2 separate regions of the Homo sapiens genome follow, and region 2 is linked to region 1. Evidence: promoter capture Hi-C in human tissues and cell types (Jung and others, 2019). All regions are on one chromosome and are shown on one strand. Each heading gives the region's core, a stretch centred on a gene start or on the middle of the fragment in contact. The rest is flanking DNA. Distances are from core to core; before and after follow the strand shown. Region 1 holds the start of LRRFIP1 (LRR binding FLII interacting protein 1). Region 2 has its middle 29 kb from the start of COPS8.

Region 1 (5,949 bases), core at 1,404-3,903:
CCCTACCCTGACAAGGTAGAGGCCATGGTCTGGATGGCGGTGGCCCCCCCATTCATATGTCAAAACCTAACCCTCAATGCAAGGTGGGGCCTGCAGGTGACCAGGTCCTGAAGCAGAGACCTCATGAACGCGATGAGTGCCCTTACACAAAAGCCTGGAGGGAGCCCGTCTTCCACCATGAGATGACACACAGAAGGCACCATCTGTGAGGAATGGGCCTCAACCAGACACTGATTCTGCTGGAGGCTTGATGCTGGACTTCCCAGCCTCCACAGCTGTGAACAATACATTTCCGTGGTTTTATAAATGACCCTGTCTAAGGCGTTCTGTTACAGCAGCACAAAGGAACTAAGACAGTGGGCACCCGTATTTCCATTTAGAGGCGGAAACTGACTCTGAAGTGAGAACCGGTCCACTCTGAGAGCACATCGCCAGGGGAAGAGGACTGTAGCCAGGAAGTTGTTATGTCATGGGGTCATGGGAGGACCCAGCAATGTTGTTTCTGATGATTTCTGAAAGGCGGCTCTTTTCTGGAAGTGGACAGATGATGGGGGAGGGGCAGGAAGCTGAATTCACCACAGTGTCCGAGAACACTGTCTACCAGCGGGAGCTGTTCAGACACACCTCTGGCCAGTCCCCACGGCAGTGAATCTCCTGTCTCTGGACAACAATCCAACAGGGAAAGTGGGGAGGAGGGTTGGGAACTGAACTCTGTTCCACAAGTTCAACCACTGCACTCCACTAAGCAACTGGCACAGCCAGTCCCTGGTGAAGGCTTAAAGATGAGGAAGATGGGGTCAGCGCCTGCCCTCCTGGCCTCAACACATCAGGATGGAGGATTTAGGTGTTAGCAAAAAGTGGCTCAAAGTTCCAATGAAGGACAGGGAGCAAAGGGAGACTTCTTTTAGAAAGGAGACGTTGGAACTTGGATATGGCTTTAGTTAAGGAGCTCCAGGCATCTCAAGTCAGCCCTGAGAGGCAGCAGCCGTGTCTGCCTCTCGGACAGCTATGCCCCAGCCTCCAGCTCAGCAGCTGGCAGGCAGCAGGTGTGGGTGCAGGAATGAGTGAACTCATGGGGACCAGCCTCGGCAAAGACGCACAGTCCCCACAGTGCCCCAGGGGCTGGGAAACAGTGAGCAGCCACCAGCAAGACCAAGGCAGTGCAAGTGGCCACGGCTCAAGGTTTCCCCCAAGGAGGACTATGTCACTTAAGGAGTATGGCCTCTGAAGTAATGTAAATATGGCCTGGAAGATTCAGTCAACACCTATTTCCTTAGTGCCTACAATGTGCAGGTGCAGTTTCTGCTCCCGGAGTTCAGTCATGAACAATGCCACAGTCAGCCCTGCCAACCCACCTGCGTCAGCTCAGGCACCCAGAGCAATGTCACCTGGATCTGCCCTCCCTCCCATGTCACTGGACTCGCTGTCTTTTCCCTGCAATGAAACCTCCAACAGCTTTCCCTGCCACTGTGGGTGGAAGGGCCCTCTTCCTCTTCCCACCTTCATACAGCTTCCAGGCCACCTCCTTAAGAATCCAAAGCAATCTGGTCACACCACTTGGTGGGAAATACACCGAAATGTTAACTGTCCTTATCACTGGGGGAAAAAAATCACAGGTGACTTCAGTACAGCCTCCTCTCCTCTACCATCACTACCCTCCCTCCCATCCTTCCCCAGGTCCAGCCACACTGAAGTTCTCCCCATACCCCAAACACACCAGTAACTTTCCCACCCGGTGCTCCTGCCGTGCCCTAGGCAGGGGCTTTTAACCCCTACCTAATCCTCCGATTTGCTTTACTTTTAAATCCACCTCTGGAGCATAGACTGTGAGCTTCAGAGAGCACAGGTAAGTTCATTACTTTTTCAACAACTAGGAGAGAGCTGCGACGCACCTGCCCCGATCCTAGAGGCTGGGGACCCACCAGAGAAGTGACAAGTCCTTGATCTCAGGGGGCAGACAGCGGGGAGAAGGATGGATGCTAGCACGGAGAACACGCGTGTAAAGACAGAAACGCACACATCCACACCATGCCGCTGTGAAGCCGGCGCCCAGGAGGCTGGCCAAGGTCACAGGAGCGGCGGTGGCGGGCGGATCCGAGCACCTCTCGGCCTGACCCCAGAGCCTAGCTCTCACCCCGGCGAGGGACTTCCACCCCGACTCACCGCGGAATGGGGAGCGCCAGGCTGAACCAAATCCTGTGCTCACCCCTCCGTGCAAACCCCTCAAGGCAACTCAGGCCTCTGAAAGCCTTCCTACCCCCCCGCTCTCCGCTCAGGTCCCCACTCAACCGGTGCCCACCGCCCTGGCGCGCGTCGCTCCGCGATTACCGGCCCGCCAAACAGTCCCCGCAAAGTCCACCCTCCGGGGCTCCCGGTCCCTCAGGTCCCGCGTGCCCGGCCCTGGGCATCCGCAGCGTCCCCGTGGTATCGGACCCCCATCGTCCCTGACACCTGGCGTCTCCGCCCCCCGCCCCCGTCCCCCGCCCCGCCGTCCCTGGCCCCTGCAGTCCCTGGCCCGCGCTGCGGACCTCCGGCTCTGGCTTCCCCCGGGTCCCCGCGGCCCCCGTCCCCCCGCGTCCCCGCGTCCCCGGCCCAGCGCCCGCTGACGCCATGACGCCGCGGCGGAGGGAGGGGCCGGGGCCGGGGCCGGGCCGGGGCGGCGCGAGCGGCTGGAGCAACGGGCCCCGCGGCAGCTGCGGGCGACGCGGTCGATGGACATGGGCACCCAGGGATCGGGGCGCAAGCGGCTCCCCAACCGGGAGCGGCTCACGGCGGAGGACGACGCGCTCAACCAGATCGCGCGGGAGGTGAGCGCTCCGGGAGGGCAGCCGGGGGGCGCCGGGCGGGCGCGGGGGCCGGACGGCTGTCAGGGTCTCTCCGGCGTCCGTCTGTCCCGCTGTGCGTCTGTGCCACTGCGCGTCCGGCTCCAGGCGGGTGGGCCGGGCAGGCGCGCGCCGGGGCGCTGATCCCCAGGCGCTGCGCCCCGGCCCCGATCTCCGAGGCCTGCGGACCCCGCACCCGTTCTCCAGCCCCGGGCCCAGCCCGCGACGCTGCGCGCCCTCCCCCACCCCGGCCACCGTCGGCCGCTGCGCCCTCGGGAGAGGAGCCGGGCGCCGCCAGCGCGCGAGGTGGCCCGGGCTGGCCGGGTGGGGGCGAGCGCCCCGCTTTGTTGTGCGGCATGGGAGGAGGCGGGGGCTTAGGCCCGACCTGGAGGCAGTGGACGGTCGCCGGAGGCCACATGGCCCTGCTGAAATGGCCGAGTCGCTCAGGTGACCATTTGTCATCCATCCATCGATGTCACTCAAGGTGCAGCTCAGAGATGAACTTGGGGATCACTGTGATTTTTCTTTCAGGACTGAGCCTGGAAACGGGTCCAGGCACACTGAAACGTCTTCATTAAAGTTTCCTGGACAGAGTTTATTGTAACTAAGATCATGTTTGGTGATGAACTTTACCTGTGACAAATTGAAGGCGCACTAGAATGGGTATTTGTACAAATGCCTTTTTTTTTTTCCTTCCGCAAGGATTCTACCTTAAGGCTAAAGAATGTACATGACATCCAGAAAGCCGTACAGGGACAGAGAGCAGCAGCTTGGGAAAAGGGGAGCCAATAGGTTGCGGCCCCAGGGGGACAAAGGAAGCTTAATTTTTGACTGTGTTCCCTTTGTACCATTTGAACTGTGTGCCAGGTGGGTGTATGAATGCAAAGAAAGTCTCTGCCTTGTAACCCGCCTTACAGGTTCTTTTCCGTGTTGGCTTTTCCACATGTGATTCTTCCCACAGGAAACACCTCCAAGCCATTTGGACTGTGGTGTCTGGCTGTATCCGTCAGATATTCTGGGGGATCTACTCTGTAACCAATCCTTAGGTGTTTGTAGTTGTAAATACCTGATTTTGCTCTTACGGACATGTGGCAGTCACTCAGTATTTGTTGACTACTGAGTGAATAAAGACTTCTGTTTTTCTCTGTATGATACAGAAAAGGGCTTTCCAGGCAAACCCTTATTCATTCCTGGAAGCCCACTGTGACCTCCAGGAGACCTTCCAGACTCAGCCCTCTCACATCGCACCAGGCCTAAGTCTCCCTGGCTCCACGGCCCTCCATGGCATGCCCGCGCCTGGCATGGCAGTCAGGATACCTTATCATTATTTGTCCACCTGTAGAAGGTGACACCCAGACAGGAAATATCTTACTTTTGTATCCCAAGAGCTCAGCACAGAGCCAGGCACATACTAGGTGTTTGTCTATGTCTGTTACATTAATTAATAAACAAAAGAAGTACAAGGCATTTAAAGGACCTTTGGCTAAATATAGACATTTGCTAAATATAGTAGCTTGAGTATAACTCCCTCCTGTGAAGACAGTCACTTATGTATGCATTTGACCACAGTGCCTTACAAGTGTTCCCTGCAAGGGCCAGAGGTGGCCAGTGAATCGCAAGCCTTGTCTTGATGTCAGTGGTTATGGGGCAGAAGAATGAGAAGAATGAAAATTTCCAGAGTTTGCCTTTTATCCACTGGTGTTTCTTTCTTCTTTTTTTTTTTTTTTTTTTTTTTTAACACAGTCTCACTCTGTTGCCCAGGCTGGAGTACAGTGGTATGATCTCGGCTCACTGCAACCTCCACCTCCCAGGCTCAAGAGATCCTCCTGCCTCAGCCTCACCAGTAGCTGGGATTACAGGCACGCACCACCACACCCGGCTAATTTTTGTATTTTTAATAGAGACGGGGTTTCACCGTGTTGGCCAGGCTGGTCTCAAACTCCTGGCCTCAAGTGATCTTCCCGCCTTGGCCTCTCAAAGTGCTGGGATTACAGGCGTAAGCCACTGCGCCCAGCCTATCTGCTGGTTTTTATAAAATAGATTGAAAAGGAAGGCAAGGGAACACTCCTTGGGTTGAGAGCCCTGAGGTCCTCCCTCCCACCGAGGGAGATGCAGTTGGAGTTACAGAGATAGACTTGTGAGTCAGAGCTGGGCTTTCAAATGACATAGTTCTTAGCCAGCTGTGCCATCCTAGGAAGGTGAGTTACTCACTCTTCTCTGGGCCTCTGTTTTCTCGTCTCTAAAATGGAGAAGAAGAAACCTCCCCTGGCTGTCAGAATTAAAGAAAGTGGGTAGCAATGTAAAGTATGTAACTAGGCGGTGGGTAAATATGAGAGCTTCTTACACGCCCCTCCCGGTAAAACCCAGCCGTAGGTGCAGCTGTTACTAGTGCTGAGTAGCACAGATTGATAGGGTTGGAGGGAGCAGGTGTGACATCTTATGTTTTAGTACAAATTAACTTCTATTTCTCAACTGTGAAAATGAAAATCACTATTCAAATGGCAAATATCTACTCCTTGAATTCATCAGGGTTCTTATAGAAATCAACAAAATCGTCTTGGGTTCAGTACTTTCTTATTCACTCATTGACTCAACAGATACAAGCCATGGTATCCAAATTCCTGTCCTGGGGAGACTGGAGAGTCAGGGAGGAACCCGGCGAGGACCTGCCTGCCCTCCAGGAGTTGGGTCAGAAAGGGGTTGACACCTGTAGATCAATAATGCTAACCGAAGACAGGAAGGGATCTGATATAAAAAGGGCGTAGACAGTGTTCTGAAGGTTTGGACATGAGAGAGAATCACAGCCGGCCAGTGGTCTCAGAAGTGGCTTCCTGGAGGAAGTGGCATTTTGAGTTCTTGAAGGCTGTATGTACCAGTCAAGATGCTTTGGCTGCTGGGACAGAAACCCTGACTGGACTGACATTGACAAGGGGAAGTATATTGGCTGGAGCACAGCAAGCCCGGAGGCAGGGCAGGATTCCCCGCCAGCCTCACCAGTGGCTCCGGCCTCTTTTTCCCACAGCACCTGCGCAGCTGGTTGGGCTGGGCCATCCTCTGTGGGTGGCCTCATCCTCAGGCTGACTTGCTTCATGGAGGCCAGCTGGCCTTGGCTTTCCCGGGCTGCCAC
Region 2 (6,948 bases), core at 2,562-5,061, 510 kb before region 1:
GACTAAAAATGCAAGACCCAATTATATTCTGTGTACAAGAAATCTGTTATACTTAAAAAGAGGTTACAAGTAAAATAAATGAAATTATATGTCATGGAAACACTAAACAGAAGAAATATGGAGTGGCTATGTTGATATCAGATGAAGTCAATATTGGAACAAGGAATGTTACAAAGGATAAAGAGAGACCTTTCAAAATGATAAAGTGGCCTGTTTATCAGGAAGACATAATAATCCGGAATGTATAAGCCTCCAACAACAGAGCTTCAAATATACATGAATCTAAAGCTGATAGAACTGAAAAGAGAAACCAACAAAGCCACAATTACAGTTGGATATTTTAATACTTCTTTTTCAGTAATTAACAGAACATTAGAAAATACATAAGGATATAGAGGACATGATCAACACTATTACCATGCAAACCTACTTGACACTCCACCGAACAACAGCAGAATAACACATTCACAAAGATAAACCATATGCTGGGCCACAGAGCAAGTGTCGATACATTTAAAAGGTTAGAAATCATGCATTATGTGTTCTCTGATTATAACAGGATTAAATTAGAAATCAATAGCAGAAGATATATTTTAAATCCCCAAATATTCAATAATTTTAAAATGTACTTCTAAATAACCCATGGGTGAAAGAAGAAATTACAAGGATAACGAGGAAATATTTTGAAATGAATGAAAATCAAAACAGCCATAACAAAATTTGTGGGATTAAAGCCCTACTTGGAGTGAAATTCATGTTTTAAAATGCTTATTTTATTAAAATAAAATCTAGAATCAGTTATCTAAGCTTCTATCTTAAGAACTTAGAAAAAGAAGAGCAAATTAAGCCCCAGATAAAGAAGCGAACAGAAATAAGCAACATAAAAACCTTACAATTAATAAAATCAATGAAACCAAGGCTATTTCTTTAAAAGGACACAGGACTCCTTGGAGAAATAGTTGGTTTCAGGTCTGTAAGTAGAGAACCGCTTAAAACAGCTTGTGCCAGAAAGCAAGGAGGAACTTAAAGAATTGGAAGACATACTAACAGGACACTAGAGCCAGCTTGAAAGGGGATCTGTCTGGCCAAATTAGGGACAGATTGAGCATCAAAATAAATGATAGTTAAGGATTATAACCTGTTCAATTACATAAGAATTCATTATTCCATATGGATATAAACAAATAAATAGCACTGAAGAACAGTTCCAACTAACAGATGTAGAATGAATGGACTTGTAATATCACCACTGGGAAACCATAATGATAATAATTAATACAGGAAAGGTTCATCAATGGACGTTAAACTAGTGGGTTAAAGCTTGGGAATTAAGAATATTTACAGACCCAAACTCCCTTCCCACAAGTATTTTCTAAAGAAGAATATACTAAAATTTTAGTGGATGACCCTTTTAACCAAGTTAACTTTACCAGTAATGAGTCACTTCAGCATCATGTGCTTTCTACTACAAACCACTGAAGAGAACACATCAATTCTGTGGTATCCATGTCCAAAATGTAAATCCTGAATCTAATAATGAAGAAGCATCACACAAACCCAAAATGAGGGATAATTTACAAAAACAACTATCTTGCATTCTTCAGGAATGTCAATTTCATGAAATACAAAGAAAGATTGAAAAACTATCCAGATCAAAAGAAACTAAAGAGGCACAACTCAACGCAATGCTATAACGCGCATGATTGGAAAATTAGCAAAATCAGAATTAACTCTGTAGATTAGATCAGGAGTTGGCAAACTATAGCTTGTGGGACCAAACCAGGTCAATGCTTATTTTTGCAAATGTGTTTTTGGAACACAGCCACACCCATTGATTTATGCATCATCTGTAGCTACTTGCACACTACAACAGTGGAATTCAGTAGTTGTAACACAAACTGTATGTTCTTTAAAGGCTAAAATATTTACTATTTGACCCTATGTAGAAAGTTTTCCAGCCTTTGGATGAGATCATTTTATAGTACACTGATTTTCCTGATTTTGTTGATTTTACTGTGGTTGTAAAAGAAAGTTTCCTTTTAAGAACATAAACTAAATTTAGAATATATACATATATATAGTTTTGTATATATATTTATATATATTTTTGTTGGATGTATAGGTCAGTAATACTAGAGCCAATTTTATAAGAAGATGATTTCATCAATGAGAACACTTAATTCTCAACATTGTTTGGCCTTCATATTATTAACATATACGACACATTCATTACATGTAGTAACACTTGAAAAAGTCTTCTGAAGATTTTCATCGTCCCTACCCTTGATTGAGAGTTATTAAATTAGAACCATTTAAAAATAAGATGCCTCCAAACTTGTAACTATTATTGTCCAGTATGTTAATCCTAAATCTTTGAAATGTTCATGTAGGGGAAAAGATACAAATTAATTTTAAACTTTAAGTTAAATGTGCATGCTAAAATATAAGGTTAACATCTATTTCTGCTAATATAGTTAATTAAATGTCTGGAGAAAACCTCCCAGTCTAGAACAACTAAAACGCTATTTAAAGTATTAAAGTTATTTTTAAATATACATCGATGAGCTGACAGTAAAATAGGGACATTCTCAAAGGCCAGAAACAACTATACTCTAGCACTGGAGCCACCAATCTTGATGGCCTAGAACCTCTGTTATTTGGGGCCACTGATATGAAGGGCGCAGGAGACAAAACCTTATATTTGATGAGGTAAGTAAGATCATTCAACTCACATACAGTAGGACATCTTAAAGATAATGCCTTGGAAAGATGAACTAGAGAAAAATCCTTCCACTCTAGAAGATTCTGCAGTAGGGGAGCAAGTAAGAAGTAATGGGAAGGGGATGTGAGTACACAAGTCTGTCTTCAGAAGGTTGTCTGGAAACAAAAGCAAATACCTGGCAATATATTTAGCTCAATGCCTGAATGAATTGCCATAGATAGGGTTCCAAGAAAGATGAGTTCACAATCCAAAACTAAACAGTGCATAATAAGCCATTATGAATAGGAATCAGCATAAATTAAAAGCCATAGAATTAAAGCCTCAAAGACATTGGGTGTGAAATTATAATTATGAAAATGTTTTATATGTTTAAGTATGTTAAAGCATGTTTAACAACATGTTTATTTTACGAAACTATTTAAGTGTATGTTTAAATAATTTTTTCAAATATTTTTAAAAGTCAAGACATTAAAATATGAAGAGTGAGCAAGAGACATCAAAACATGCCTGGCATATATGAAAAAGAATTAACTAGAATTTCTCCAAAAGAAAAACAAAATTAGGATTTCAATGGGTGGGCTGTAACTGCCTATTTTCAGATTTAAAAGTTTGTGGGTACAGCAGAAATTTATTGGTCAGTGAAAATGGTAAATTTGATAGCAGATCCAAGCACGTACAATTACAAATAGCTAATCAGGTGACCTAGACTTTCATAGCTCTTACCTCTGTTGTACCAACACCTCTCTCTCAATTCACATGTATAGTTTTATTGGAGGTTTCTTCTGACTTGCTGATGGAGGAAGCAAAAACCCAGGCCTGATTCACAAACAGGTCAGCTTGACATGTTGATACAAGCCTAAAAATGCACTCCTGCCATATTTCAAGCCCACTCAGTGGTGGACATAAAGGATAGCAGTGAGGGGAAATACTCCAAGTGGACAGATTTTTGAGCCGTGCATTTGGCCATTCACTTTGAACAGAGGTAGCAGCAGCCAGCAGAATGAACTTTATTTATTTATTTTTTGTCTTTTTTTTGCATCTGTTTCTTTTTATTATTATACTTTAAGTTTTAGGGTACATGTGCACAATGTGCAGGTTAGTTACATATGTATACATGTGCCATGCTGGTGTGCTGCACCCATTAACTCGTCATTTAACATTAGGTATAAGACAGTGGCAAGTGGCTAGGCTTGTGTATCAGAGGCCTGAAAGGAGAAAGATCAGGAAATTGGAGATAAAGAGGTCTGGGAAAGAGATCACGAATGGACTTGTAGGAGTGGGCGCACAGTAAGTAAATCTATGTGTTTCACATCAATGCCCACCAGAGAACACTCACCAGACCGGGAAAAAGTCATCTATGAAGTGGACAAGTTAACTTGTCTTTTGCCTGTGGGCCAGGCTGTCTTCACTCATCCCTGTGTTGGCACAATGTGTCCATAAATAGAGTCATAATAGTAGCAGGAATGGGGTTTACACATGGGCCAGGCAGCGTGAGTTCTCCATCACCAAGGCTGATCTTGCTTCTTCCTCTGTGGACCTGGAGTCAGTGCAGAGTGATGTGAAGCCGTCAACTATGACTGTTCCAGAAGGAAACTAGATACCACTTGGCAGCACTGAAGATACCAGTAGTTGGTTATATTGGCCCCTTCTACCATGGGAAGAACAGCGTCACATCCTTACTGGAATTGGCACCTACTCCAAGTATGGGTTTGCCTTACATGCACTGTGAGTGCCTTCTCCAGCACCACCTTCTAAGAACATACAAAAGTCTCATCTATTAACAATAAATCCTACAGAGCATCACGTCAGTCCAAGAGACCCATTTTATGAACAGGGAGATGTGACAATGGGTGCATGACCGTTTCATTGGTTTTAAGTTTTCCTTACACAGAAGTATCTAGCTTAATAGAATGGTGGAATGGCCTATTCAAGGCTCAGCAATTGTACTAGCATGACGGGTTGGCATGCTTTCTTCCAAGAGATGGAATATGCACTAAACTGAGCCACAACCAATATGGAGTTAGGTCCCCAACAGCTAGATGCAGGGGCATGAGAAGAAGCTCAGTTTAATGTCCTCACATAATTCCCAGAAATCCATTTGCAGAATTTTTGCCTTTCATCTCAGGTTATAAGAACATTTCTCACTCTCTACTTTCTGCAAGTTAAACTCAGAGCAACTATCCGTAACTGATAAGGAACCAGATGTTTTACAGCCCTGTAAAATCAAAGTTACACTCCCTGAGAGAGCTCAATGAAGGTCAACTGGGCTTATTAAAGAAATTGTTCAGAAAGATAACAACAATCATTTTGACATTTTCCAAGTTTTGGATAAATAATTTTTAACACATGTCATAGAAGGAATGTTTGCAAAAGGAAAGGCTATTCAGCATGAGAAGAAAAGATGGGTGGGGATGATGATTGTCTTCAGATATTGGACTGACCACCATGTGGAATAATTTTGTTTATTGCTTCAGAAGGCAAAATCAAGAAGGTTAGAAAGACCAGTTTTGACTCAACACAAAGAAGAGCTATTTAACTGCCTAGACCAGCACTGTCTAATAGAGTTAGAAGACACACCTCACATATGTAACTTTAAATTTTCTGGATGCCACAGTAAAAAGGTGAAAAAGAAAAACAGATAAAATTAATTTTAACAACAATCTTATTTAGCCAATCAAAAATATTATTAGTTCAACATGTCATCAATACAAAAATATTAATGAGATATTTTACATTCTTTTCTTTATACTACATCTTTGAAATCCCATGTGTATTTTACATTTGTGGCACAGCCCAATTTGGACTTCCACATTCCAAGTGCTCAGTAGCCACACAACTTGTGCGTATCAGTTGGTGATGGTCTAGATGGTCTCAGATAGTGTGAGGATCCCATCAGTCAGATACCGTTGAAGCCAAGTTCAATAACCACTGATCAAGGCTGTTTTGAAGGAATGTTCAGGCACTGGTTATGTTAGGACAGTTACCAGGACTCCCCTCCCCTTAACCTGTCTCCACCTTTTATAGCAAAAGCAGGAAGAACAGAATTCCACCTGATAGCATCCATCCCCACTGCCCCCATCCATCCAAATGATAGCAGCAAGGGCAAATACACCTCCTGGAGAGATTAGCAGTTTTCCAGGAGTCTTCTAGCTTTTAGTGTGTCTGGGGGATTTTTACAACCCACAATTAAACTCTGCATTGAAAAGCAGGGGGAAGAAAGGCATCTATTGCCTCTTAGCTGAGCAGCCCATGAACTGGAGTAAGTACCTCCTTGTTAACAAATGCCATGCCTGGATTTCCTCTCACCTGAGAACCCTTGCTATCACTGCAGTTGGAGAAAGGTAAGGGTTTGCCGTTTTGCTAGAGTCAATAACTTTTGAGTAATCTGCATCATATTTGTGGTTGAGCAAAGTAGTAACTTTCCTCTGAATTTGTTGCTTCTCTAAGTAAAGGAAGCTTTCAAAATTAGTGGAAAAGATTGTGTAGTTTTATCCAAATATCTAAAGACAAGCTAAAACCAGGGTGGACATTTTATTCATGTAAATGATTGATGACATTCTCCTGGGTCAATTGAGATAGTGGGAAGCCAGGAGTCTTTGGACATCTTTTTAAGAAATGAGTGGACTTGAATGAGCATGTTGTGTGCACCCACCTGACCAGCATATGTGCATCCTGAATGTGAATCATGATTTTTTCTCCTGGGTGGAGCTGCAGGAAAAGATTTCATTCTAAATGAAAGAGGAACTGGACCATTTTTAACTTGTGAGTCACATGATGGGAGGAATTGCCAAAAACAGTTTTGATTGAATAATGTTCTCCTAATTGTGCACCTGCACCTGATCTCTAAGAAGAGCAATTCAGGACAAAGGGCAAAATGCCCAGTGCATAATAATGCATAAGGTAATAAGAACCTCTTCATGGCTATCCTGTGTCGGTTAAATAACATGGTTTGAAAACTGAATTAGGTTGTTTGTGAGGTTGGGCAGTGAATGAGGTCAATCGAGTAAGGTCCAAAAAATTCCAAATCCATTTGGGAGCCTTAAGCCTGTTGGATGTCTCCCCTTATAACCCTGATTTTTAGCAGACTGGTGAACAAGATTTTCAATGTATTTCTGTCATAAAATACAAAGAATGTAAATGGAAATATGGGAGTGTGGCCTCAACTGCCTTAACTTTGCCTGAGGCAATTTAATATGGACCAACTTCAAAAGATTAGGAAGCTTTAG

The links. The method cuts DNA at HindIII sites, captures the fragments that hold promoters and counts their contacts. A contact is called where the count stands out against the background at its distance.
Region 2: a contact is called between a fragment that was not itself captured here and the fragment with the promoter of LRRFIP1 in region 1, in 2 of the 25 tissues and cell types used here (IMR-90 fibroblasts and mesenchymal stem cells).

Annotation. Positions count from the first base shown.
Region 1 is chr2:237,624,934-237,630,882 of GRCh38, forward strand. LRRFIP1 (LRR binding FLII interacting protein 1) reads left to right here and starts at 2,654. Exons shown (of 24, transcript NM_001137550.2): 1 at 2,654-2,807. The coding sequence starts at 2,712. The HindIII fragment of the contact is 12,440 bases long and covers 1-5,949 here.
Region 2 is chr2:237,111,769-237,118,716 of GRCh38, forward strand. No RefSeq gene overlaps it. Among named protein-coding and RNA genes, the nearest start is that of COPS8, 29 kb to the left of the region's middle. The HindIII fragment of the contact is 5,497 bases long and covers 1,064-6,560 here.